Linked DNA regions of Homo sapiens: all the other regions are linked to region 6. The links are contacts of gene promoters, found by promoter capture Hi-C in blood cells and fetal thymus (Javierre and others, 2016). All regions are on one chromosome and are shown on one strand. The core of a region is centred on a gene start or on the middle of the fragment in contact, and the rest is flanking DNA. Distances in the headings are between cores, read along the strand shown.

The links. The method cuts DNA at HindIII sites, captures the fragments that hold promoters and counts their contacts. A CHiCAGO score of 5 or more calls a contact.
Region 1: a fragment that was not itself captured here is called in contact with the fragment with the promoter of DMKN in region 6 in 10 of 17 cell types (naive B cells, M0 macrophages, naive CD4 T cells and 7 more); the score reaches 11.1 in naive B cells.
Region 2: a fragment that was not itself captured here is called in contact with the fragment with the promoter of DMKN in region 6 in 1 of 17 cell types (M0 macrophages); the score reaches 8.6 in M0 macrophages.
Region 3: a fragment that was not itself captured here is called in contact with the fragment with the promoter of DMKN in region 6 in 16 of 17 cell types (naive CD4 T cells, naive CD8 T cells, M0 macrophages and 13 more); the score reaches 12.9 in naive CD4 T cells.
Region 4: a fragment that was not itself captured here is called in contact with the fragment with the promoter of DMKN in region 6 in 2 of 17 cell types (M0 macrophages and erythroblasts); the score reaches 5.9 in M0 macrophages.
Region 5: a contact is called between a fragment that was not itself captured here and the fragment with the promoter of DMKN in region 6, in 9 of 17 cell types (monocytes, total B cells, naive CD4 T cells and 6 more). The highest score is 8.8, in monocytes.
Region 7: a contact is called between a fragment that was not itself captured here and the fragment with the promoter of DMKN in region 6, in 10 of 17 cell types (naive CD8 T cells, total CD4 T cells, naive B cells and 7 more). The highest score is 9.8, in naive CD8 T cells.

Annotation. Positions count from the first base shown.
Region 1 is chr19:35,048,353-35,052,257 of GRCh38, reverse strand. It overlaps HPN (hepsin), which reads right to left. Exons shown (of 13, transcript NM_001384133.1): 3 at 2,867-2,968; 4 at 2,742-2,783. Among named protein-coding and RNA genes, the nearest start is that of HPN, 8.6 kb to the right of the region's middle. The HindIII fragment of the contact is 5,328 bases long and covers 1-3,905 here.
Region 2 is chr19:35,984,169-35,987,897 of GRCh38, reverse strand. No RefSeq gene overlaps it. Among named protein-coding and RNA genes, the nearest start is that of SDHAF1, 9.2 kb to the left of the region's middle. RefSeq lists an enhancer at 896-955. The HindIII fragment of the contact is 921 bases long and covers 1,067-1,987 here.
Region 3 is chr19:35,068,597-35,072,006 of GRCh38, reverse strand. The region is part of intron 3 of HPN-AS1 (HPN antisense RNA 1); the gene reads left to right. Among named protein-coding and RNA genes, the nearest start is that of HPN, 29 kb to the right of the region's middle. RefSeq lists a silencer at 1,176-1,376 and an enhancer at 2,761-3,410. The HindIII fragment of the contact is 1,655 bases long and covers 496-2,150 here.
Region 4 is chr19:35,963,359-35,966,820 of GRCh38, reverse strand. LOC105372383 (a long non-coding RNA gene) reads right to left here. Exons shown (of 5, transcript NR_136525.1): 5 at 2,751-3,274. Among named protein-coding and RNA genes, the nearest start is that of LRFN3, 29 kb to the right of the region's middle. RefSeq lists silencers at 2,967-3,167, 2,917-3,217. The HindIII fragment of the contact is 3,759 bases long and covers 1-3,428 here.
Region 5 is chr19:35,114,296-35,117,921 of GRCh38, reverse strand. FXYD3 (FXYD domain containing ion transport regulator 3) reads right to left here and starts at 2,099. Exons shown (of 9, transcript NM_005971.4): 1 at 1,963-2,099; 2 at 1,563-1,658. The HindIII fragment of the contact is 443 bases long and covers 1,029-1,471 here.
Region 6 is chr19:35,511,533-35,515,334 of GRCh38, reverse strand. DMKN (dermokine) reads left to right here and starts at 1,686. Exons shown (of 16, transcript NM_033317.5): 1 at 1,686-2,285; 2 at 2,545-2,745; 3 at 2,858-2,914; 4 at 3,522-3,572; 5 at 3,742-3,802. The coding sequence starts at 1,860. The HindIII fragment of the contact is 13,607 bases long and covers 1-3,802 here.
Region 7 is chr19:35,091,255-35,095,049 of GRCh38, reverse strand. All of the region lies in intron 1 of LOC124904701 (hepatitis A virus cellular receptor 1-like), which reads right to left. All of the region lies in intron 2 of HPN-AS1 (HPN antisense RNA 1), which reads left to right. Among named protein-coding and RNA genes, the nearest start is that of HPN-AS1, 13 kb to the left of the region's middle. The HindIII fragment of the contact is 6,053 bases long and covers 1-3,795 here.

The DNA of each region.
Region 1 (3,905 bases), core at 662-3,161, 460 kb after region 6:
CCGCACCCCGCCCAAGTACTACACAGATTTTTATCTCCTCTTATTCCCACTGATTCTTCTTACCCCCATCTCACAGATGAGGAAATTGAGTCTTGGAGAGAGTAGGGACTGGTGGGAGGCCCCACAGCTCAGAAGGAACTGTGCAGAACTGAAATCTGCCTCTGGGTGTGAGCTAGAAAGAAGTGGGTGAGTAGAGACTTCTGTGTGAGCAGGTCATTTGAGCAAGGGACTGGGCCCTGAGGGTGCTAGAAGCCAGTGTGAGGTGGGGGTGGAGAGGGGCCTCCACACTAGGAGGCTTGGAGCCTGTGATGGGTTGGGATTTTATCTCAATGCCACGTGTTGTCACGGAGGGGCTTTTGACAGGGGCGTGATCCCTTCGCTCTGTCTCTGATGTGTGGTCAGCCTCGGGCAAGTCAGTTTGCTTCACTGGGACTCAATTTCCCCCAAATGCAAAATGTTGGGATGTAACAGCCCTAACTTCATAGGCCTGCTGGGTAAAGGCTGCCGCCAGGGCCTGGCATATGTCAGTCTTTACTATGGCAATGAATTCAGCTGTTCTTTTTTTTTTTTTTTAACAAGCAATCAAGTGTAGACACTATATACAGTTACTACGCAGGCTGCCTGGGTTCAAATCCCAGCCCTGACACTGACTAGCTCCATGACCTGGGGCAAGTCACTCAGCCTTTCTGTGCCTCAGCATCCCCATAGGAAAATGGGTTGTGGTGGTGCACACCTGTAATCCCTGCACTTTGGGAGGCTGATCTGAGAGGACTGCTTTGAGCTCAGGAGTTCAAGATCAGACTGGGCAATGTAGCAAGATCCCATCTCTACTAAAAATTTAAAAAATGAGGTTGGGTGTGGTGGCTCATGCCTGTAGTCCCAGCACTTTGGGAGGCCGAGACGGGTGGATCACCTGAGGTCAGGAGTTTGAGACCATCCTGGCCAACATGGTGAAACCCCGCCTCTACTAAAAATACAAAAATTAGCTGGGTGTGGTGGCACGTGCCTGTAGTCCTAGCTACTCAGGAGGCTGAGGCAGGAGAATCACTTGAACCTGGGAGATGGAGATTGCAGTGAGCCAAGATCGCGCCACAGCACTCCTGCCTGGGCGACACAGCGAGACTCTGGCTCAAAAAGATAAAAATAACAATAATTTGTTATTGACAAAATAATTTTGTGTAGGCATGGTGGCATTAGCCTATAGTCCCAGCTACTCAGAAGGCTGAGATGGGAGGATTGCTTGAGCCCAGGAGATGTAGGTTACAATGAGCTAAGATCGTGTCACTGCACTCCAGCCTGGGCGACAGAGCAAGACCCCATCTCAAAAAAAAAAAAAAAAAAAAGAAAGAAAGAAAGAAAGAAAAAAAAAAGAAAAGAAAAACAACAGGTTGTTGGGAAGACTTAATGAGTTGATATCATAAGGTCCCAAGGCCTTGGCTGGTGCATACAAATGCTAAGTGCTGGTAATGATGATTAATGTTGATGTTGGCTTTTCTTGTCTGGATTTTCATTTCTGATTTTAGTGTGAACTGAATCCTTTATGGAATTAGATGAGGCTCACAGACATGAAAAATACATCCCACCACCCAACTTCCCCTTTTTTCCTGCTGTCCTGCATCAGGGAATGGCAGCTTGAAGTTGGCATTTGGGAAGATTCATTCATTCATCCCACAGTTAGTTTCTTTATCTATTTATTTGTGTGGCCATTCATTCCACATGCCTGCAGACACACTTACAGTGGATAAGTCTAAGAGCTGTTCCTGGCCCCTCGTTCCCCAGCTGCATGTCCTCTCTGGTCCTCATTTTGCACATCTGTAAAATGGAGCTAATTACCAGGGACAGGCGCAGTGGCTCATGCCTGTAATCCCAGCACTTTGGGAGGCCGAGGCGGGTGGATCACAAGGTCAGGAGATAGAGACCGTCCTGGCCAACATGGTGAAATCTCATCTCTACTAAAAATACAAAAAATTAACTGGGCATGGTGGCACACGCCTGTATTCCCAGGTACTTGGGAGGCTGAAGCAGGAGAATCGCTTGAACCTGGGAGGCAGAGGTTGCGGTGAGCTGAGACTGCACCATTGCACTCTAGCCTGGGTGACAGAGCAAGACTTTTTTCTTTTTTAAAACAAACAAACAAAAAAACTACCTCCTAGGAGAGTTAGAAGGGTCCACTGAATTTATATCATGCCTCCCCAACATGTTTTCACCATGCCACGCAGTAAGAAACACATTTTTACATCCTGATGTAGCCCATAGCTCTGTAGTCTGGGGCAAACTGCTGCATTGCTCAAAGCCTCAGTTTCCCCATCTGTAAAACAGGGAGAATAACAGTCCCACCCTCAGAGTGTGGGGATGCAGTGGGATTACATGTATATGGATGCAAAAAAAAAAAAAAACAAACAAAAATTAGCATAACCTTTACTTACTGAGAGATGTACTGTGATAGTCTGTAATCGAATCTATTTCATACTTAAAAAAAAAACATGGTTTTCCAACTCACTAATTTAATTTTATGAGGCACTCATGAGTAATACACTGGTGTCTGAAAAAGTCTGGGTTAGACATGTGGGGTGCTTAGAATAGTGCCTGGTACATAGCAGGCACTCAATACAAATGCACTATTATGATTAGCATTTCTGCATGCATTTGTGCATTTATTCAACAAATACGCTTGTTGAGCTCCCGCCAGATACACGTGTCCTCCAGGGCTCCCCCAGAGGGTCCCAGCCTGCTCCACTCACCTGGGTACAGCGGCTCCTGGTCACTCCTGAGGAGAACAGCCACTGCAGAGAAGGGAGGGGTGAGGGCAGGCAGGCTGGAGGCTGCAGGGGCCAGGGGAGGTCAGAGGCACAGGAACCGCTCTCACCAATGGCCCAGGATGCCGCCCCGATGGCTGTCAGAAGTAGCAGGGTCCCCGCAGTGAGAGCTGCCACCTTGGGTCTGGAGCAGCATGGCACAGTCCGGCCACCTGCAACAGACACCATGCTGGGGCCACAGCCAGGCCTGTCCTCATTGCGGCAGGGTCTGGGCCCGAGGCCAGCTCTGCCCTGCCCCCAGGGCTAACTTATTATGCCCAAGCATGTCCTCCCCAGGCCCAGTTTCCCGGGGCCAGCAGTTGACAGGGCTGTTCCTCCCCTGCCGTGTGAACAACCAGGTGCCCAGCTCCCCCAGGGTTCCAGCTGGGAGGGGGGCATGGCCGGGCCACCTGCCACGGTCTCCACCTCCGCCCTGCACTTTCCTGGCACTTAGGGAATGTCTCCTCCCCAGTGACACTGTGCTTTTGTATTTCTGTCTTTGCTTTGGGCCATCTCTTCTTGGGACTGTGACCCCCAACCTTTGCCCTCTTGGTAGCTCTCTTCCCTGCCGCTGGCATTTCCTCGCTGCCTCAGTCGTTTCTGCTGTTCTAGATGCTTTGCCCCTAGATACCCCCTAAATCAGACCTCTCTCATGGTACCCAGTTGCAAGATCAAATTTGCCCCTCCACTTGAAAATCTGCCAGCCTCATTTTATTTTATGTATTAATTTTTTTAGCGACGTGGTCTTGCTATGTTGCCCAGGCTGGTCTCAAACTCCTGGGCTGAAGCGATCTTCCTTCCTCAGCCTCCCAAAATGCTGAGATTACAGGAGTGAGCCACTGCGTCTGGCCAGCCTCATTTAAAAATATTGACCCTACCCCTTCCTAGCTGGAACCTAAGGCAGGTGCCATCATATCTTTGAGCCTCAACTTTCTTATCTATTAAATGGGCATCCACTGAGCACCTACTTCTAAAAATAATAATTTAAAGTTATTTTCAAGAAGAAGAAGAATAGCTCAAATTGTATTGATGCCTCCAGGTGCTAAGCACCGTTCTAAATACATCAGCTCATTTAGTCCTTATTTCAATCCCACAACTATGATTCCTGTT
Region 2 (3,729 bases), core at 278-2,777, 470 kb before region 6:
CAATTCTCCTGCCTCAGCCTCCTGAATAGCTGGTACTACAGGCATGCACCACCACTTCCGGCTAATTTTTGTGTTTTTAATAGAGACAGGGTTTCACCATGTTGGCCCAGGCTGTCCTCGAACTCCTGACCTCAAGTGATTTGCCCGCCTCGGCCTCCCAAAGGGTTGGGATCACTGGAGTGAGCCACCGTGCCTGGCCTAAACACCCTTATCTTTTAAAGACATACACTTTTTAATTTTATTTAATTCTTTTAGAGACGAGGTCTGGCTCTGTTGCCTAGGCTGGAGTGCAGTGGCGCCACCATGGCTCACTGCAGCCTCGACCTCCTGGGCTTAAGGATCTTCCTACCTCAGTCTCTTGAGCAGCTGGGAACACAGGCGCGCACCACCCCCCCCCCCCCCCGCCTAATTTTTAATTTATTTTTTTGAGCCCGGGAATGGTGCGGGCCAGCAAGGGAGAGCACAGGGGCGGAGCGCGGGGGCGGGGGCCGCAGGGGCAGGGTACCAGACGGTGCCCAGCGGTGGGTGTCCGCCTGCAAGGAAGCAGCCGCATTCGGCTGCGGGCACTCAGAGGCGCCGCTCAGCGGGAAGCCCTGGCCGCATACTCAGCGCTCCCGGCAGGGCTGTCACCCGCGCATGTGGCCAGGTAGCGCGCAGCTCAGCGCGAACGCAGCGGGCACCGCAAAGCTGGGGCGGGCCGCGGGGGTGGGAGGGTCAGGGACAGAGACAGAGAGAGGTGGGGGAGACATAGCCAGGGTCGGATGGGGGAGGCGGAGATGGAGGATGCCCGCAGAGAGCAGCACGGGTGTGCCCGGGGAAGAAACAACGAGGAACCGAGAGAAGGGGAACGGGAACAGGGGAAGGGGCGGGGCAGAGGGAGGTCCAGAAAGAGAGACATGCAGAGAGCCAGCGGCACGGAGGAGACATAGAGACACCGAAAAAAGAGGCATAAAAGACAGAAAGACCTTGTTAATCAGGCCGGGCGCTGTGGCTCACGCCTGTAATCCCAGCACTTTAAGAGGCTGAGGAGGGAGAGCCGCTTGCGCCCAAGGATTCGAGGCAAGCTTGGGCAACATAGTGAGACCCCTGTCTCTATAAAAATTGTTAAAAATTTTAAAAAGACCTTGTTAATCAAACCAGACCAATCAAATCAAGTCATACCCCTGCCTGTCTTGCCGCATCTAATCTGGTCCTAACTGTTCTCCAGTACCCACCCTTCCTCGCCTAGCCCCACTGCCCAGGCCTGAACTTCTGTTGGTCCTGACGCGACCGTCCCCTGGTGGCCCATGTCAGGGCTCTTCAGAGCTTACCCCTCTCTCGAAAGCACACTCGTGACAGAAGGCAGACTCCCAGAGCCCTGCAAGCCACAGTGTAGGCAGCCAGGGCCCAGTATATGGTTCAGTGGGCGCTGTATTGGTGGCACACAGTGGGCCAGGCACTTGCTGAGGAATGGGCCTGGTCACAGTGCTGCATAGCCGGGCTCCAAGGGATCCACCGCCACTGCCAGCCACACTCACTGCCCATTCCTGGTGAATAGGGCATGCACGGCCATCTGGCAAAATCCAGGGCAGAGGGGCCCACAGACCTGGCTGCAACCTGGCAACTTAGCAACCTTCCGGGCATTGGGCAAGGATGTAATAGGGTCACTGGGGCCAGAGTCTACACAGGTAGGGTCCATATGGCCATGGCAGCATCACAAGTGCCAGGCTGTCCCAGTCATAGCAAGAGGCCAAAGTCTGTGTCCATGTACAGCTGGCAGCCCCAAAGTTGGGTGTGGAGGTGGTGGCCATAAGAGAAGGGCAGCGATTCCCAAATTCCGTCTACCTACACAGAGGGCATGCAGGCAGGTTGAACAGCAGCAGGAGATGGTCACTGAGTAGTGGGGGAGTCAGCAGAAAGGATCAGAGAGGGGTCAAAGAGAACCTTAGTGGCTGGTTAATGGGGGGAGTCATTAGGGATCATAGGAGGATTTGGTGGGAGGTAAGCTTGGGGCTCAATGGGGGGTCAGTATAGGATTCAAAGGGGGATCCATGGCAGAGTGGTTGGATGGCCAGAGTTGATGAGAGGTCAGTGGAAGTTCAATGAGGGGCAATAAGAGAATGGATAAGAGTCAGTGAAGAGGGGCCAGCAGCGGGGGGCAAGGGGAGGATCTAGAAAAGGGCAATGGAGGAAGGGATGGACAACTCCGTGGATCACTGAGGACCGAGGCTTAGTGGCTTTGGGCGACAATGGGGGCTCCCCTGGAGAGTAAATGGGGGTGGAGTCAGAAGGGTAGTCAGTGACTGACAAACGCTGCTGGGTTTGTGGATGGCAGTTCAAGGTTAATGGGCAACATCCTACTGGGAAGGATGCCTCTATGATCAATGAGGGCCTAGTGAGACTTGGACAGTGCTCTAGGAGAAGGTGTGCCAATGAATGAATGGGACACTATAGAAAACTCAACAGGGTGAGAAGATGAGTCAAAGAGAGGCTCAATTAGAGGGATAATAGAAAAGCAGGGGAATGCAGTGCAGGAGTTAGTCATATCCAGTATAGGAAGCTCAGTAGAGAATCAGTAGATGGCAGGGGTGGGGGCTTGATGGGCAGGTCCACAGGGGGTAAATGAGGACATTAATAGGCCAGTCAATGGATCACTGGGAAGGTCAACAAACTGCTCAGAAAGCATCAGTGTGGGAGGTCGGGACGGTGTCGGGTGGGGTCAATAGGACAGTAAATGGGATTAATGGGCAAGTCAGTATAACAGCAGTAGGATTGGTCAGGTATGGTGGCTCATGCCTCTAATCCCAGCACTTTGGGAGGCCAAGGCAGGAAGATCATTTGAGCCCAGGAGTTCAAGACCAGCCCGGGCAACATAGCGAGACCCCCTGTCTACAAAAAATTTTAAAAAGTAGCCAGTTGTGGTGGCGTGTGCTTATAGTCCCAACTACTCAGGAGGCTGAGGTGAGAGGATTGCTTGAGCTCAGAAGGTTGAGGCTGCAGTGAGCCGGGATCACGCCACTGGACTCCAGCCTGGACAACAGAGAGACTCTGTCTCAACAAACAAACAAACAAACAAACGTAGTAGGATCAGCTGGGGGAGGGCAATGGATGACTCAATGAAATAATTAATGGGATGTCCAATGACAGGGAGGGTCAATGCAGAGATGAGGCTGAGCCTGTGGGTTGAGGGGATTCAATTAGGGAGTTAATAGGATGACTATTGAGGATTCAATGGAGAGTCAATGGGAGGGTAAGTGGAATCTCAATGGCGGTTAATAATGACAAGTGGATGCCAGGCATGGTGGCCCCCTGTAATTCCAGCACTTTGGGAGGCTGAGGCAGGTGGATAACTTGACATCAGGAGTTAGAGACCAACCTGGGCTATATGGTGAAACCCCGTCTCTACCAAAAATACAAAAATTAGCCAGGCGTGGTGGCACGTGCCTGTAGTCCCAGCTACTTGGGAGGCTGAGGCAGGAGAATCACTTGAACCTGGGAGGTGGAGGTTGCAGTGAGCTGAGATCACACTATCGCACTCCAGCCTGGGCAGCAGCATGAGACTCTGTCTCAATAATAATAATAATGACAAGTGGAGAGTCGTGGGGAGGGGTCAACAAGCAAGTCAAGGGGAAGGTGGTGAGTAGCCACTGGTGCCACTAGGGCCACTAGGAAATTGGAGTAGACATCTTTAAGGGCCAGGGGCAGAACTACTAGAGGGAGCATCAGTAGGAAAAGAGTAGTCATCATGGG
Region 3 (3,410 bases), core at 74-2,573, 440 kb after region 6:
TGGCGCAAACTCGGCTCACTGCAAGCTCCACCTCCCGGCTTCACGCCATTCTCCTGTCTCAGCCTCCTGAGTAGCTGGGACTACAGGCACCCGCCACCATGCCTGGCTAATTTTTTTGTATTTTTAGTAGAGATGGGGTTTCACCGTGTTAGCCAGGATGGTCTCAATCTCCTGACCTCGTGATCCACCCGCCTCGGCCTCCCAAAGTGCTGGGATTGCAGGTATGAGCCACTGCACCCGGCCTCAAACCCACAGTTTCATAAACATTATTGTTAAAGTCAAGGCTGGCAGGGCACAGTGGCTCATGCCTGTAATCCTAGCACTTTGGGAGGCCAAGGCAGGTGGATCGCTTGAGCCCAGGAGTCTGAGACCAGCCTGGGCAGCATAGCGAGACCCCATCACTATCAAAAATACAAAAATTAGCCAGTCTCATAACCCGGTCTCAAAATAAATAAATCAATAAAAATAATACATAAATAAAGTCAAGGCTAAGCTTAAAAAAAAAAGACACACACACACACACACAAAAGGAAAAGAGATAATTTGAATAAAACAATACAAGTAGTACCAGCGGTATTTGTTTGCCCCTAAGCTCCATAAAGTTGGTTTGTCCTGTCCCCTATATTTCTCCAATTCCTAGAACAGTGTCTGGCACATAATAGGTGCTTAATAAATATTATTTGAATGAATGAATAGCAAAAATTAAGACAGCCACTTTCAAACATCTGAATTTGGGGAAATACTGAAGTAACATGTATAAAACTCTCAGTACAGTACCTGTCACATAGGAAGTGCTCAAAAATATGCATGGATATGTTTATTAATATAAATTATTATTATTATTTAGAAGTGAAACAGGCATTGTGGCCAAATGCTAATTAGTGAAGTATTAAATTAAAGATTTGCCCAAAGCTGACTATCACCTTCTTAGAATGAACTTCTGTAATGTAAGAACAAATGTGAAAGTGTTCTAAAAAGTTATTACTGTCATAATTTTATTATCCACAATTTTAGCAGGGAAATATTTCAGGTTGAACACCTTACTGAGGGATCATTTCTCTGCTTTGTCAGCTGTTAATTTGCTCCGATAGTCCATAAGCTCCTAGGGCAGTTTTAAGATGTGGCCCCAAATTTTTTGACCTGCCTTCCACCACCAAAGGGTGGGGTCTCCATCTCCTCCTCTAGGGTCTGGACAGGTTTGTGATTGCTTCAGCTGACAGAGTGGAGCAGAAATGAGGCTGGGGTGTAAAGGCCAGTGTCTGCTGGAATGCTCACTCTGGAGCCATGAGCCACCACGTGAGAAGTTCAAATGTCCTTGGGTAGCCATATTGGAAGGAAGCCCAAGTTAGCCAGACAATGAGTCCACAGTACCAGCTGAGCTCAGCTTTTGAGTGATCCCAGCCCGGATACTAGACTTGTGAGTAAAGAGCCTCCTTTTGGGATACCGAGGCAGGAGGGTCACTTGAGCCCAGGAGTTCAAGACCAGCCTGGGCAACCAGTCCCATCTCTACAAAAAAAAAATAAAATTAGTTGGGTATGGTGGCACACACCCGTAGTCCCAGTTACTTGGGAAGCTAAGTTGGGAGGATCGATTGAGCCCAGGTGGTAGAAGTTTTAGTGAGCCATGATCACACCACTGCACTCCAGCCTGGGCGACAGAGTGGGACCCTGTTTCAAAACAAACAAACAAAAGAAGCCTCCCTATTCCAGTCCCTGTTCCTTTAGGCTTTCTAGCTAAGGACCTGGTCATCAGGGAGCAGAGACAAGCTGTGCCTGCTGTTCCCTGTCCAACTTTCTGAGCTGCAGAATCCATGAGCATTTACTGTACCCACTAGCTTTGGGTGGTATGTCATGCAGCAAGAGCCAAAACAGCTCCTCGCTTCATAACTGCAGGATTGAAACAGTGTTACTTTTTATGCAGAAACTAAAGTCCATCTCCCTACTTATGCTGCTATCTGAATGTTCACAATAATTATTTCTGAATATAAAATGAATAGCCTTCACCATCATTGCTAATCATGGCTGTGATTTTATGTATGAAATAACTGTTGTGGCAGAGTAGCTGTACATTTCTCCTTCAACCCAGCTGGGAGAATGCCAACTTATAACCACATATGGAGCTATCTGTTCCAACTAACATCCAGAAAGCTTTTCTATATTTGAAAAGGACTATGTAGATATAAATGCTAAATAGGAATGCAAAACTTGGCTTGGGTTCCTGATGTAGTTGCACTAATTCTGTAAGATGGGTCAAATATTTCTGATTCTGAGCGGCACCACAATGACATGGAAGTAATTTTCATATTCAGCTTTTCTGAAGACTGAGACCCTGGCAGGAACTGAAAGCAACCTTGTGACTGTTATTATTCTTTTTAAATATCTTCCTAGCTCTTTGGGGTGAGTGGCAAGGTTGCTGGGAGCAGGAGGAGAAACTGAGGCTCACTGACCCCTGGCATACAAGGGAAACCAGTGAATGGCTGTTGAGTGAATCACAATCTCCCCAGCCCCTCCACTCCTCCAACAAAGCAACAGTGCAGACAGAACTCAGAATGGCTGTCAGAGGCGTTTGAACCAGAGCAACTCCATCTTAAATAGGACCTGGGTAAAGTAAGGCGGAGACCTGCTGGCCCGCATTCCCGGTAAATTAAGGCATTCTAAGTCAGAGGATGAGAGAGGAGGTCGGCACAAGATACAGGTCATAAAGACCTTTCTGATAAAACAGACTGCAGTAAAGAAGTCGGGAAAACCCACCAAAACCAAGATGGCCATGAAAGTGACCTCTGATTGTCCTCACTGCTACACCCCCACCAGCGCTATGACAATTTACAAATGCCGTGGCAATGTTGGGAAGTTATCCTATATGGTCTAAAAAGGGGAGGCGTCAATAATCCACCCCTTGTTTAGCATAACTAAATAATAAATCAAGACTAAATCAAGAAATAACCATAACAATGGGCAACCAGCAACCCTCGGGGCTGCTCTGTCTATGGAGTAGCCATTCTTTTATTCCTTTACTTTCTTAATCAACTTGCTTTCACTTTACTCTGTGGACTTGCCATGAATTCTTTCTTGCACGAGATCCAAGAACCCCTGGGGTCTGGATCAGGACCCCTTTCCAATAACATGGCCACCTGGTTTTTATTTTCCCAGCAGGATGCCTGTTGGCTTTTAATGACCAAATTTCCATCAGATCCCCTAGAATAAGGCCACATCCCCCCCAGACTTCCCAGGGCAGGGCCATGCCTTCTTCAGTGCCCCTCACACCCGCCCTTCTCCTCACCAGAGCAAACTGTGTCCCTCCAGGACATGGTCACCTCAGTTTAGAACCCCCAGGGTGGACCATGTTCTCTCAGAGTCCCCAGACTTCCTAAAACACAGGTACAGTACATTTCTCAGCTGGCAATTACAAA
Region 4 (3,462 bases), core at 300-2,799, 450 kb before region 6:
GTGTTGTTTGGTCCTGATGCAGCCACTGCCATGGTCTTAGAGCTGAAGATGGACGGTGTTTTGGAGTCCTGCCATCTTGGAACTGGACAAGGTCTCAGACTCACATGTGACCTGAGTGGTGGGCACACATTTAGGCCTTTTTCATTTATTTATTTATTTAGATTTTAAATTACTTTTTTGTTTTTTGTTTTTTTCTTTTTTCTTTTTCTTTTTTATTTTGAGGCAGGGTCTGGCTCTGTTGCCCAGGCTGAGGTGCAGTGGTGCGATCTCAGCTCACTGCAACCTCCACCTCCTGGACTCAAGCCATCTTCCCACCTCAGCCTCCTAAGTAGCTGGGACTACAGGTGCATGCCACCTGGCTAATTTTTGTATTTCTTGTAGAGTCAGGGTTTTGCCATTTTGCCCATGGTGGTCTCCAACTCCTGAGCTTAAGTGATCCACCCATCTCTGCCTTCCAAAGTGCTGGGATTACAAGTGTGAGCCACTGTGCCCAGCCACACACTTAAGTCTGTGCTTCACAAGCTGACATGTGGTCCCATCAGAGCATGTATGGCCCTCACAGGAGACCTGGAACTGGAGTGGCATCACCAGGGAAGACTAGGAGGGGATGGGACTCTATGAAAGGGCTCACTTCCTCCTCAGTCAAAATATTTAGAGATGAGATGAGGGAAGGATGCAATATAATTGGATCCTGGAATTTAGCCTCATCCCCGACCTGCCTTCATACCCCGGGCCTCCAGGGTCCCTGGCACTGGAAACTCAACATTCAGAAGCTATCAGTGTTCCCAATTTAAAATAAACTGGGTCTGTATGTATCAGCAGAAAGAAAAGAGTGGGACTGAGGGACAAAATGATCAGCACGGCCTGGGTGTAGAATAGGTCTGTAGGGAGCTCGAGAGCACAGGCTGCATCTGAAGACAGCCAGATTCAATTATGTGAGCATCTCTATGCCAGTGCAAATGTATGGTGCATTGATTCTGGCCATCGAGGACTTCAACTTGCCACATTAAGCAGACTTGAGGGTAGGATGTGAGAGTGTGTGTGTGTGTGTGTGCGCGTGTGTGCGTGCGCATGTGTGTATGCTGTGGGGAACTGGAGACATATATTCCTTCCTTCTTCCCAGGAAGGGATGTTATTTATTCATTGCTATCAGTGCACGAAGCTAGCCACCTACAAAGTGAACTTTTTTTTTTTTTTTGAGACAGAGTCTCACTCTGTCACCCAGGCTGGAGTGCAGTGGTGTGATCTCAGCTCACTGCAGACTCCACCTCCCGGGTTCAAGAGATTCTCATGCCTCAGCCTCCTAAGTAGCTGGGATTACAGACATGCACCACCACATCTGGCTGATTTTTGTATTTTTAGTAGAAATGAGGTTTTGCCATGTTGCTCAGGTTGGTCTCGAACTCTGACCTCCGGTGATCTGCCCACCTCGGCCTCCGAAAGTGCTGGGATTACAGGCATGAGCCGCCACACCTGACCCCAAAGTGAACTTTTAAGAATAATCTTGTGTTCTGTAGAACTTTGCATATTTTCTATCACAATGGAATATAGAAAAAAAAAGATGGAATATAGAGTTTTCGTATGGACTGAGCTAGAGTGTCAGCTCCCTGAGGGCAGGGATGTTGTCTGTGTTGTTCACTGTTGCATCTGCAGTGCCTAGAACAGGCCTAGCCTGAAGAAAATGAAAAAAAAATTGCTGCAAAGTAATACTGGCAAATATTTACTGCATGCCAGACAGTGTTCTATGAAGTCATTTAAAAAACGCTGGCAGGGTGCAGTGGCTCACGCCTGTACTCCCAGCACTTTCTGAGGTCAAGACAGGAGGATCACTCAAGCCCAGGAGTTCAAGACCAGCCTGGGCAAGATGGTGAGGCCCCATCTCTACTTTTTTTTTTTAATTAAAAAAAAAAGGCTGGGTGTGGTGGCTCATGCCTATAATCCCAGCACTCTAGAAGGCCGAGATGGGCAGATCACCTGAGGTCAGGAGTTCAAGACCATCCTGGCTAACATGTGGAAACCCCATTTCTACTAAAAATACAAAAATTAGGTGGGTGTGCTGGCCTGTGCCTGTAGTCCCAGCTACTTGGGAGGTTGAGGCAGGAGAATCACTTGAACCTGGGAGGTGGAGGTGTAGTGAGCCAAGATCTTGCCATTGCACTCCAGCCTGGGCAACAAGAATGAAACTCCATCTCAAAATAAATAAATAAATAAATAAATAAATAAATAAATAAATGAATAAAAATAAGGCCAGGCGCGGTTGCTCATGCCTGTGATCCCAGCACTTTGGGAGGCTGAGGCAGGTGGGTTACTTGAGGTCAGGCGTTCAAGACCAGCCTGGCCAATATGATGAAACCCCATCCCTACTGAGAATACAAAAATTAGCCAGGAGTGATGGCAGGCACCTGTAGTTCCAGCTACTAGAGAAGCTGAAGTGGAAAGATTGCTTGAACCTGGGAGGCGGAGGTTGCAGTGAGCCGAGGTTGCGCCACTGCACTACAGCCTGGGCGACAGAGTGAGACTCCATATCAAAAATAATAATAATAATAAATAAATAAACATAAAAAATTAGAGCCAGGTGCAGTGGCTCATGCCTGTAATCCAAGTGTGTTGGTAGGTCAAGGTGGGTGGATTGCTTAAGCCCAGGAGTTTGAGACCAGCCTGGCAACATAGCAAGACCCCATCTCTATTTCTATTAAATAATAATAGGAATAATAAATAATTTAATTTAAAATGCCACAACAACCTTATGATGTTCATACTATTATCCACCTTTAATAGAGGGGAAGTAGATAGTCAGAGAAATGAATTGACTTATGCAGAATCACACAGCTTGGAGCAGGATTTGCATCCAGGACTCTTGGCTCCAGAGTCCAGCTCTGAGCTGTTATAAATAAATGAATTGAAGTCCTTGTCTTCATTTCTAAGAAACCCAGCCTCTCTCTCTCAGCATTCCCTCACTTTTCTCTCATCTCCCTGGTCTTCCGTTGTTTCTCAGGACCGTAAGAGGTTGAATGGGATTTCAGGGTTACAGGAAAAGCCCAGGTCCCGCAGCACAGTGTGTTCAGAACCATGGTCAGCGTCCAGTCTCGCTGAGTCTTCGCCGAGCGCGGTGCCCTCTGAGACAACATGCCTGTTTCCCAGCAGCCCAAGCAGGCTTGGGGTTCAAAGCTGACATCTGTTCAGCATGTGGCCTTGGGCAGTGATTTCATGGCTTAAACCTTCAACTGTCTTCTCTATGAAATGAGGATAACAAAAAGACCCATCTCCAGGATGACTGTAAAGAGAACATTATATAATGTATGTACATTATTTATAAAAGCACTTGCCACTTAGCACATAAGTCTAGACTACTTTATAAGTCTTTGCAAGGTGGTACAAAACACAAAACAAAACAACACCCCCCACAACCAAAAAGGTGGTTAAAAGCTTGCACTGTGGACACAGACAGACCTGGGTTCAAAT
Region 5 (3,626 bases), core at 1-2,500, 400 kb after region 6:
AGGGTGGTGCCCGCAACCAACGGTGCGGGTGGTCCTTGCAGGTTGGCACAGACTCCTCCCTCTGCCTGGCACCCCAGGGCCTGGGAATCCTCTCAGCTTCCCAGTTAATTCCACATGCTGAACTCACAATTTTAGTTGGAGCATCCATTTCTTTTCCTTTTTTTGCGGGAAGAAAGCCTGAGGCTTTGGGGAGCATTACTGAGGCCCAGGAAGTGTTTAGGATCCCCAAAAGTGTTGGGGGTTGGGGGAGCTGGCGTGGGTGGGTGGGCAGGATGGCATGTTGGATAGGGGCACAGGTTGTAGGTGGACTGCCTGTGGTCTGAAGCTGTCACCCATGACCATACGAGTCCTGGTAATAACAGCAGATGCTTATTGAGTGTCTACCCCATGGGGGCATTTTCTCAGCTTCCCACTTACTCGCTCAATCTCTGCAGCTTAATGCAGGGGGCACTATTATTAGCCCACATTGCAGTTGTAATCCTGTAACCCCTGCAAATTCATCTTAAAGCCCTATGCTCTGTCGCCATGGCTGTTGAGTCTCACCTCTTAAGCCTCTTTCCAGGGGCTCCTCCAAGCCACCTCTGGCCTGCAAGGCCCCACTATACCCCCTTCCCATGATGTCATCCAGCCAAGACTGACAGATGGTATCCTCCTCGCCCCAGCCTCTGCAAAACAACGTCCAGTCCCATGCTTCCGGAGGCTGCAGGGAGCCGGGAGCTGGGTCTGCCCTCACGTTCCCCATTCAGGCTGTTGTCTGAAGAGGCTGTGGGCTGCTCCCGAACTGATGTGGTTGGTGAGCAGGTTAGAGAGGAAGGCAGCCCTGCAGCTGATGCTCTGTCTACCTGCTCTCATCCTTCCTGGCCATGAGGTCCCAAGGCCGGCCTGAGGACTGTTTCCCCCACCTGCCCTCTGCTATCCCCTCTATTCCTCCATACCATGGGAGAATGGTCTCATGTTCAGGGGTGGGTAGAAAGATCCTGCCCGCTGTGTGCTCCTGAAATCTCCCAAGCAACTCCCCATTTAAAGCTTCCCCCAGCAGCTCCATCCTTTTTTCCTGGAGGTCTCCAGAATCCAGATCCCTCAATGTCTGGACACCCCGAGTCCACCCAGCACTCCTTATCCACCCAGATCCCTCAATGTCTGGACACCCCGAGTCCACCCAGCATTCCTCATCCACCCAGATGTCCCCAGTCCATCTACGCACCCCTGGTCCACTTAGATACCCCTACCTACCCAGGCACCCCCTCTCCTCCACCCAGCTATCCCCAACCCAGATATCCCTAATCCATGCAGACACTAGTCTTTCAGACACCCCAACCACACTTATCAGTCCTGCCCTCACCTCAGCTGGTTCAACAAGTCCCTGAGAGGAGAATGGTGGGGAAAGGGACATTAGGGGAAGGGACTTCCGTTTATCTCCTGGCTCCAGAAAAGCATTTCACAAGATTTTAGGCGCTTTAACATAAAAGCTTCTATGGGGCAGGGTCAGGGGGCAGGTAGATACTTCCTAATTTAGGGGCAGAGACAAGGAGGGCTTGGAGGAAGGGGCCCCAGCTGCTCACCTGTGTGGTTCACCAGGCTGAGCAGAGGTTCCGGGAGAAATCGGGCTGCCAGGCGGAGTCCTGCGTTTATCCGAAGCTGCCACGCCCTAAGCAAACCTGGGCAGGTAGAAAACAAGTCAGATGCCCTGAGGCCCAGGGGCTCCATTCCTGCTCTTAAAGAGACAGCTTCACCCCCTCCCCAGCCATGGGCGGCAGGTTGCTCCCTGGGGTCACCAGGACCACAGCAGCCTCAGGTGAGACGGAGAATTGGATGGGCTGGAACTCGGCCCCTGGAATTAAGGGAGGAGCTTTCTCCAATCTCCTGTGCCCAGGAGAGGACCTTGAATGGGGAAGGTTCTGGGGTCTTTAAACGGCAGAGCCTCCAGGGCCATGCAGTGAGATGATGCGTTGGTGTTCCGACCTCACTTCTTTTCCTTAGATGATGTGTTTTGCCTGGTGGAAGGATTGCTGGCAGTTGTGGAGAACTTAAAGTCCCCTTCCAGGCCACATCTTGCCGCTGGTACAATTTCAGGATCAGCAGAAGATGCTAGCGTGACCAAAGTCAGGAGATGGGGCAGGGGTGGATATGAGGGAGCGGCTGGAACAGCAGGGAGGGGTCAGGGTGGGGACTCTGGGACCTTAGTCCTGGTCATAACCTGCTCCCTGCCCTGGGGAGAATGAGAACTGTCTGCCAGGCACCAGGCTGCAGTTTCCTAGCCAGGCTCTTTCCGTGGGTGCTGGGAGCCAGACGCCTGGGTCTACAGAGTGGGTGCTGGTGGGGGCGGCTGCCTCCTAGTCCACATAAGGCCCCCAGCACTGTACAAGCCTCCCTCCCCCTTTCCTCCCCTGTCTCCTGCTCCTCCTCCTCCAGGCATTCCTTCCGGATGGGGTCTGTGCAGGCTCCCCCATGGTCCCAGTTGGGGGTGCCCCCTCCCCTCAATTCCGCCTTCTTAGACAGAGGGACTTTTGTCTGGGGGCTGGATGGAGAACAAGGATCCTTTGAGCGGTTGGCGGAGGATTGGGGTCACGGGGAGGGGTAGGGCCAGGAAAGGGGTAGCTCTGCCCTGGACACCAGCTGGACTCCAGGCGACCCCAACACCACCGTGGGGGCGGGGAGGAGGGCTGCAGGGCCTGGCCAGGGAGAAGCAGCTGCTGGGAGTGTGGAGCACAGGACAGGAAAAGGGGGTTTGGGTCAAGGCTCTTCCGGAAACTGGCCTGCTGGGGGCAGAGAGAAGGACCCCCCACTTGTCATCGCTGAGGGATCGGGGAGGGCAATGTTCGCCCAGCGCTACACCCCTTCTCTATGTGGTTCCCTGGGGCAAGTTGTCAAGCCCAGGTCCTAGACAAGGGTAAGGCTCCCTCCTACCACTCTTAAGGCGGGGCCAGTTCCCATAAGGAAGCCGGGCGGGGGGACCTCGGGGTAGGGCTCTAAGCAACAGGTCCAGGAGGAGATAGAAACAGGAAGGGGAGGCCCGGAGGCCAACTCAGTATAGCTAAGGGGGGTCTTTGTGTCTGGGCGGATAGCGTCTCTTCCCTAGACCCTTGAAGCTTGTGTCTGGGACGACCCCTTGGTGGTCTTGGGAGTGGAATGGTGTCTCCCTCTGCTGGGAAGCCTGGGAACTGCAGGCATCCGAGAGCGAGTAGGGGCGTGTACAGGGTGGCTGGGAAGGGCGGGGGGTGCTCTGCCCTTCACCGGAACGGGGTGAACTGGAGAACTGTTGTCTAAAAATCTTGGAGGAACACCCCTGCCCGTGGTTAGATACAGAAGTATTTCCCAGACAGCTTGCTAAGGGGAAAAAAAACAAGGTATTGGGAAACCGTGCAGTGTGCTACCATTTGTGAGCGGTAAAATAATGCATATGTATATACTTGTAATGAATAAAATATTTTTGGAGATTGGCATCCATACCCATGGCTTCTGGAGAGGGAAACTGGGAGGCTGGAGGGTGGGGTGGAAGTGAGACTCACTCATTATCACGTGCCCTCTTATATTTTTTGAATTTTGCATCTTGAAAATGTACTACCTTAAAGGGGTTTAATTTAAAAAATTTGGTTCAGATTTAAAAAAAAATTTGCAGGTCAAAA
Region 6 (3,802 bases), core at 437-2,936:
GATAATCACTTGAACCTGGGAGGCGGAGGTTGCAGTGAGCCAAGATCGTGCCATTGCACTTCAGCCTGGGCAACAGAGTAAGACTCTGTCTCAAAAAGAAAAAAAAAATTAGCTGGGTGTGCTGGTGTGCATCTATAGTCCCAGCTACTTGGGAGACTGAGACAGGAGGATCGCTTGAGCCCAGGAGGTCGATGCTGCAGTGAGCTACAATTGTGCCAGTGTACTCCAGCCTGGGCAAGACCCTGTCTCTAGAAAAAAAGAACCATCTCCCAGAGTTGTATAATTCTTAAACTGCTTGTGCTTAGTCCAATGCTGGGTACATACAGAACCGCTGATAAGCTGGAGCTGTAATTATTATTATTATTATTATTATTATTACCACCATCGCTATTATCATCATTAACGAGTCAGAGATGGAATAACAGGGAAGTAGGAGCTGAGGAGGACAGATGGGGATAGTGTTTACAAGGTAAGAAGTGTTGGATGTTATAAGCTGGGGTGCGGATATTGGGGTGGAGAGAAGAGAGAGACTGACTGAGAGACATTGAGAAAGGCTGATGGAAACTGGCCCCTCCTAACTGGGCGATGAACCCCAGTGATACGAAACAGTGGGAGGCCCTGTGGCCCCTGGGAATAGAGAAGCAGCCACACTTGCTGGGCAGGGGTGAGGCGGGGGGAGGCTCCCAGGTTCTGTATCCCGAGCTGGGACTGGGGAGAGGGCCGTGGCTCTCACGGATGGCTCCTGACCTTGCGCTACCCTCTTCTCGCTTGCCATTGCTGCCCTGGCCCCTGGCCTGGGGGATGGGTGGGGTGAGCTGGCCCAGTCCCGCCCCTCATAGGCGCTTATACTCACACGTGCCCCTCTAGGGCTGCGTAAACAGGATGGGTGCCTGGGTCAGCGGCTCCCTCCCTTGGCCTTCCCTCCCACTCGTTCCCTGGGGGTGGCTGGCGCGCCTGGCTGCCCTGCTCCGCGCCCAGCTTTCTCAGCCGGGAGCAGCCTGAACGCTGAGACACCCTGCTGACCACTCAAAGGGCTATGGCCACCTCCTTCCCCGACACCGAGGGTCCCCCCGGGGGCTCTCCCCAGAATCTCAGAAACTGACACGCAGCCCCGTGTTTGCCAGTCTCTCTCTGTGGGCTGGAAGGTGTGGAGGAACAAGAAGGCAGTCACCTGTAGGTGGCAATGCGGGAGGGGAGAGGGAGAGGAGAGGCTGAGGTGCTGAAACCGAGAAAGGCCAGGCCGAGGACGGGCAATGCCTGTCACTCTGGAGCCCCTGAGCCAGGCTGGCTGAGCCTGGGTGGGTCCTGTCCCCTGGGGCTTCCCTGTCCTTACTCCTTTGGTGGGGTCCTGCCAGTAACTCCTCTCTTCTAAGTCTGCCCCCACCCCACCGCCTCCAGGAGCCAACGACAACCTGTCTCCTTAGATGCCCCTGCCCCCACCCAGCTCCCCGAATGCCTGGGGTTGGGAAATGGGAGCACTTTTGCATCACCTCATCCATTTCTCCCTCCCTCCCTGATGCGGCTCACTCTCTGTTTCGACAGAGACTCTCAGACTCACAATAACAGCTGATTACCCTATTGGTGGCTGGGCCCTGAGTCACTGCGGGGAGGGACCTCAGGTTGCCCAGCCCTGTCACCTTCTCCCAACCTAGAGTATAAGGAGTAGTGACAGGGAGGTGGACTCTGAGAAGCCCAGGCAGTTGAGGACAGGAGAGAGAAGGCTGCAGACCCAGAGGGAGGGAGGACAGGGAGTCGGAAGGAGGAGGACAGAGGAGGGCACAGAGACGCAGAGCAAGGGCGGCAAGGAGGAGACCCTGGTGGGAGGAAGACACTCTGGAGAGAGAGGGGGCTGGGCAGAGATGAAGTTCCAGGGGCCCCTGGCCTGCCTCCTGCTGGCCCTCTGCCTGGGCAGTGGGGAGGCTGGCCCCCTGCAGAGCGGAGAGGAAAGCACTGGGACAAATATTGGGGAGGCCCTTGGACATGGCCTGGGAGACGCCCTGAGCGAAGGGGTGGGAAAGGCCATTGGCAAAGAGGCCGGAGGGGCAGCTGGCTCTAAAGTCAGTGAGGCCCTTGGCCAAGGGACCAGAGAAGCAGTTGGCACTGGAGTCAGGCAGGTTCCAGGCTTTGGCGTAGCAGATGCTTTGGGCAACAGGGTCGGGGAAGCAGCCCATGCTCTGGGAAACACTGGGCACGAGATTGGCAGACAGGCAGAAGATGTCATTCGACACGGAGCAGATGCTGTCCGCGGCTCCTGGCAGGGGGTGCCTGGCCACAATGGTGCTTGGGTGAGTGGCTGTGGGGCTGCATGTGGAAATGGGAGGCTGTGGGCTGCTGGGCTGAGATTCTTGGGAAACGGTTGAAAGGATGGATGGATCTCTTACTTGCAGGCTTCTGGGGCAGCTTCCTTCTATGTTCTGCCCCCCTCCTATGCCACCCTGGAGTCCCTCTGCCTGTCTCTCTCCTGGTCTCTTTATGATTTGCCCTGGCTCTTCTCTACCAGGGTCAGAGATGGTCCCACTAAGTGCAGGTATGTTGTTCTTGCAGGAAACTTCTGGAGGCCATGGCATCTTTGGCTCTCAAGGTGGCCTTGGAGGCCAGGGCCAGGGCAATCCTGGAGGTCTGGGGACTCCGTGGGTCCACGGATACCCCGGAAACTCAGCAGGCAGCTTTGGAATGAATCCTCAGGGAGCTCCCTGGGGTCAAGGAGGCAATGGAGGGCCACCAAACTTTGGGACCAACACTCAGGTAAAGTCACCCCCAGACCTGCTACCTGCCACCTCCCTCCCTCCAAGCCCACATGCTCCGCGTGCCTCCCTGGTCCCTCTGGATCCTACTCTCAGTCTCACCCTCTCTGCAGGGAGCTGTGGCCCAGCCTGGCTATGGTTCAGTGAGAGCCAGCAACCAGAATGAAGGGGTAAGAGGAAGGGGCTGGGAACAAATGAAGAAGCCACTGGGTGCAGGCTACAGAGAGCTGGGGAAAGACAAAGAGGAAAGCAAGATGGGGGAGTGGAGGGATTGGGGTGAGAGGAAGAGATGGGGCTGGGCGAGGTGGCTCACACCTGTAATCCCAGCACTTTGGGAGGCCAAGGCACGTGGATCACCTGAGGTCAGGAGTTCAAGACCAGCCTGGTCAACATGGTGAAACCCTGTCTTCACTAAAAATACAAAAATCAGCCGGTCATAGTGGCATGCGCCTGTAATTGCAGCCACTTGGGAGGCGGAGGCAGGAGAATCACTTGAACCTGGGAGATGGAGGTTGCAGTGAGCCGAGATCGCATCACTGCACTCCAGCCTGAGCAACAGAGTGAGACCCTGTCTCAAAAAAAAAAAAAAAAAAAAAAGGAGGAAGAGACGGGCCTGGGCCTGGGGAGGAGGCAGATGGGAAGGGGAGGTGGGAGAAACACATTAGGAGAAAGGAAGCCAAGCCCCAAAGAATGGGAGAGGCCTGGCCTGTGTCCATGGCCGAGGCCAACGTCTCCAAACTCACCGTCCCCAAACTCACCATCCCTTTCCCTCGACAGTGCACGAATCCCCCACCATCTGGCTCAGGTGGAGGCTCCAGCAACTCTGGGGTGAGTGGAGAGGGGCAACCCAGGAGTTGTGCACCAGGAGGAAATGGAGAAGTTCTGCTCCCCTTAGACTGGGCATCATGGAATATGGCCTGGGTGGAGAGGGAGGGAGGAGGGGCCCGTCTTGGTGCTCTGTCTTTAATCCCAGCCCTGCTCCCTTCCTGCCCCTCAGGGAGGCAGCGGCTCACAGTCGGGCAGCAGTGGCAGTGGCAGCAATGGTGACAACAACAATG
Region 7 (3,795 bases), core at 444-2,943, 420 kb after region 6:
GCACGTGCCACCATGCCCGGCTAATTTTTTAATTTTTAATTTTTAGTAGCGATGGGGGTCTCACCTATGTTGCCCAGGCTGGCCTTGAACTTCCTCAAGTGATCCACTTTGGCCTCCTAAACTGCTGGAATTACCCTGTTCTTTCTTAATAAGGCTAAGGGCATTTCTGCGTCTGGACTTTGCACCTAAGGTTCCCTGTGCCTGGAGGGCTCTTCCCTCATTGCTCATAAGGCTTCTCCTTCCCTCCAGCAAGTCTCTGCTCCAAAGTCACCTCCTCAATGAGGCTTTTCCTGCTCACCCTGTTTAAAAATTATAACTCCCACCCCATACTCACAAGCACTCCTGATTCTCCTTTCTAGTTTTATTTTTCTAGGACTTATCACCATCTGAAATATTATGTATTTATTTTTTACTGTTTGTCTCTCACTATTATAATGTGCACTCTAGGAGAGAAGAGACCTGTCTCTTTTGTTCTTTGCTGTGTCTCCAGAGCCTACAGCAGGGCCTGCTACAAAGTAGATACTCAGAAAAATTTTGTGAGTGGATGGATGGAAGGATGGATGAGTGGATAGATGGATGGATGGATGGATGGATGGATGGATGGATGGATGGATGAATGGATGAATGGATGGAAGGATGGATGAGTGGATGGATGATAGATGGATGAATGGATGGATGGCATAGGCCAGGTGGTAGGTGCAGGTGCCCTGGAAGTGGGCTATGGCCCCATCGAAGGTGAAGTAATGAGGATCTCCAGTGGCCATGCAGGTGCCCAGGGGGCTCTGGCAGCCCAGCTGGCCACCCTGCAGACCACAGATCTTCCCAGTGGGGCAGCACGCCGGGCTGCAGCGGAAATGCCCCGTTCTGTCACAGCTGCAGCGGCGGGTGCATCGGTTCAGCCAGACCAGGTCGGAGGCCAGATCAGCATGCCCTGCCCAGCCCAGCCCAGGTGGACCCAAACAGGGCCTGGTGGAGGCCCGAGGCTGGCCTGGCAGCTGACCCAGAAGAGCAGAGGCTCAGGGGCCGGCTCAGCATGGGATGGGCAGGAATGCCATGCCCAGATTCAACAGCTGGGGGTCTGACCATCATGACAGGCTACTGCCTTACCCAGAGGGCAGCAAACTTGTGACACCTGCTTTCTCTCAGTGGAAAGCACAGCCTAGTGATTAGCAGCACAATTTTGGGGTCAGAGAGACCTGGAGTCCAGACCTAGCTCTGTCCCTTGAGATCTCTGTGCATCCTGTAGCCTCAGTTTCCCCCTCTGCACATTGGAGGCAATCAAAGGGCTGTTTGAAGGTCAGTGCGGTCATACGCATGAGGCTCTCACCACCCAGCTGGCCTACAGTAACCAAGTTCTTGACATATATCTGATACCATTATTAATAACATGCTGGCCCAGTGCTCAAGGCATAATAAGCACTCAGAAAATATTACCTTTTATCCCGATGACAGGATTACACACGCAGCAAATGACCAAAATATGTTCACGATGGTTATCATTATATATCATTAACTGGTTAGCACAGCAATACAGCAGATGCCTGGTACATACCAGCCATTATTATTGTTAATATCACCATTATTTTAATATGCTTACACAAGGCACATTGTAAATGCCCAAACTCTTAATATATTAGCCATTATTATTATTATTACTATTCATAAAATGCTTAGCCCAGGCATGAACACAAAGTAAATACCCAATATATTTTAGCTTATTCATTTAATTATTTTTTTGAGATGGAGTCTTGCTCTGTCACCCAGGCTGGAGTGCAGTGGTGTTATCTCAGCTCACTGCAACCTCTGCCTCCTGGGTTCAAGCAATTCTTGTGCCTCAGCCTCCCAAGTAGCTGGGACTACAGGCATGTGCCACCATGCCCGGCTTATTTTTGTATTTTTCAGTAGAGACAGGGTTTTGACATGTTGGCTAGGCTAGTCTCCAACTCCTGACCTCAAGTGATCCGCCCACCTTGGCCTCCCACAGTGTTGGGATTACAGGTGTGAGCCACTGTGCCCAGCCCCCAATACATTTAAAATTTTTTTTTTTGAGACGAAGTCTCACTCTTGTCCCCCAGGCTGGAGTGCGATGGTACAATCTCGGCTCACTGCAACCTCTGCCTCCCGGGTTCAGGTGATTATCCTGTCTCAGCCCCCGAGTAGCTGGGATTATAGGTGCCTGCCACTAAGGGAGGAGACCACCCCTCATATTGTCTTATGCCCAATTTCTGCCTCCAAAGAAAGAAGTAAAAGCCAAAAGACAGAAATGAAATCCACAGGCAGACAGCCCGGCGCCACACCCTGGGCCTGGTAGTTAAAGATCCACCCCTGACCAAACCAGTTATGTTATCTATAGATTACAGACATTGTATAGAAAAGCACTGTGAAAATCCCTGTCCTGTTCTGTTCTGTTCTTACTGGTGCATGCAGCCCCCAGTCACATACCCCCTGCTTGTTCAATAGATCACGACCCTCTCACGTGGACCCTCTTAGAGTTGCGAGCCCTTAAAAGGGACAGGAATTGCTCACTCGGGGAGCTCGGTTTTTTGAGACGTGAGTCTTGCCGATGCTCCTGGCCAAATAAAGCCCTTCCTTCCTTAACTCAGTGTCTGAGGGGTTTTGTCTGCAGCTCGTCCTGCTACACCACCACGCCCAGCTAATTTTTGTATTTTTAGTAGAGACTGGGTTTTACCATGTTGGCTAGGCTGGTCTAGAACTCCTGACCTCAGGTGATCCACTCGCCTCAGCCTCCCAAAGTTCTGGGATTATAGGCATGAGCCGCCGCGCCTGGCCACATTTTAATTATTATTATTAGCAGTATGGGACCTGATGTGTGATCACTACTCAAATGTTGGCCATCAAAATAATACAAATGGTTTGGGTGTGGTGGCTGATGCCTGTAATCCTAGTACTTTGCGAGGCTGAGGCAGAAGGATCCCTTGAGTCCAGGAGTTTGAGACCAGCCTGGGCGATACGGTCAGACCTCATCTCTACAAAAAATTTAAAAATTAGCCAGACATGGTGGCACGCAACTGAAGTCCCAGCTACTCAGGTGACTGAGGGGGAGTATCATTTGAGCCAGGGAATTTGAAGCTGCAGTGAGCTAAGATGGCGCCCGTGCACTCTAGCCCCAGCAACAGAGCAAGACCCTGTGTCAAAAAAATAAATAAATAAATAAAATAAAAATAAAAAAATAAAAATAAACAAAAAATAGCACTGACCACAATGCTAAAACATTTAGGACAGAGTCTTGTACCTATTAATGATAAATAAAATGAGCTGTTTTGATTATTGTTATTATTACTACTATTACATTGCCAAAGTGTGTAGTGGGGGCTATGCACTCAATAAGTGATGGCTAATATTTTAAAAAGTCAATAGTGCTGACAGTAATAATAATAATACATATATTTTTTGAGACAGAGTCTCGCTCTGTTGCCCAGGCTGGAGTACAGTGGCGCCTTCTCGGCTCACTGCAGCTTCCTCCTTCCGGGCTCAAGCGATTCTCCTGCCTCAACCTCCCAAGTAGCTGAGATTATAGGCGTGGACCACAACATCCAGCTAATTTTTGTGTTTTTAGTAGAATGGGGTTTCGCCGTGTTGGCCAGGCTGGTCTCACACTCCTGACCTCAGGTGATCCGCCGGCCTCGGCCTCCCAAAGCGCTCAGATTACAGGCGTGAGCCACCGCACCCAGCCAATAATAATATTATTAAGCACTTAGCACACAGGGAATGACCTTAGTAACTAGTAGCAGTATTGGAATCATCAATAATAAAGCAGGTCAACACATTGTGAAC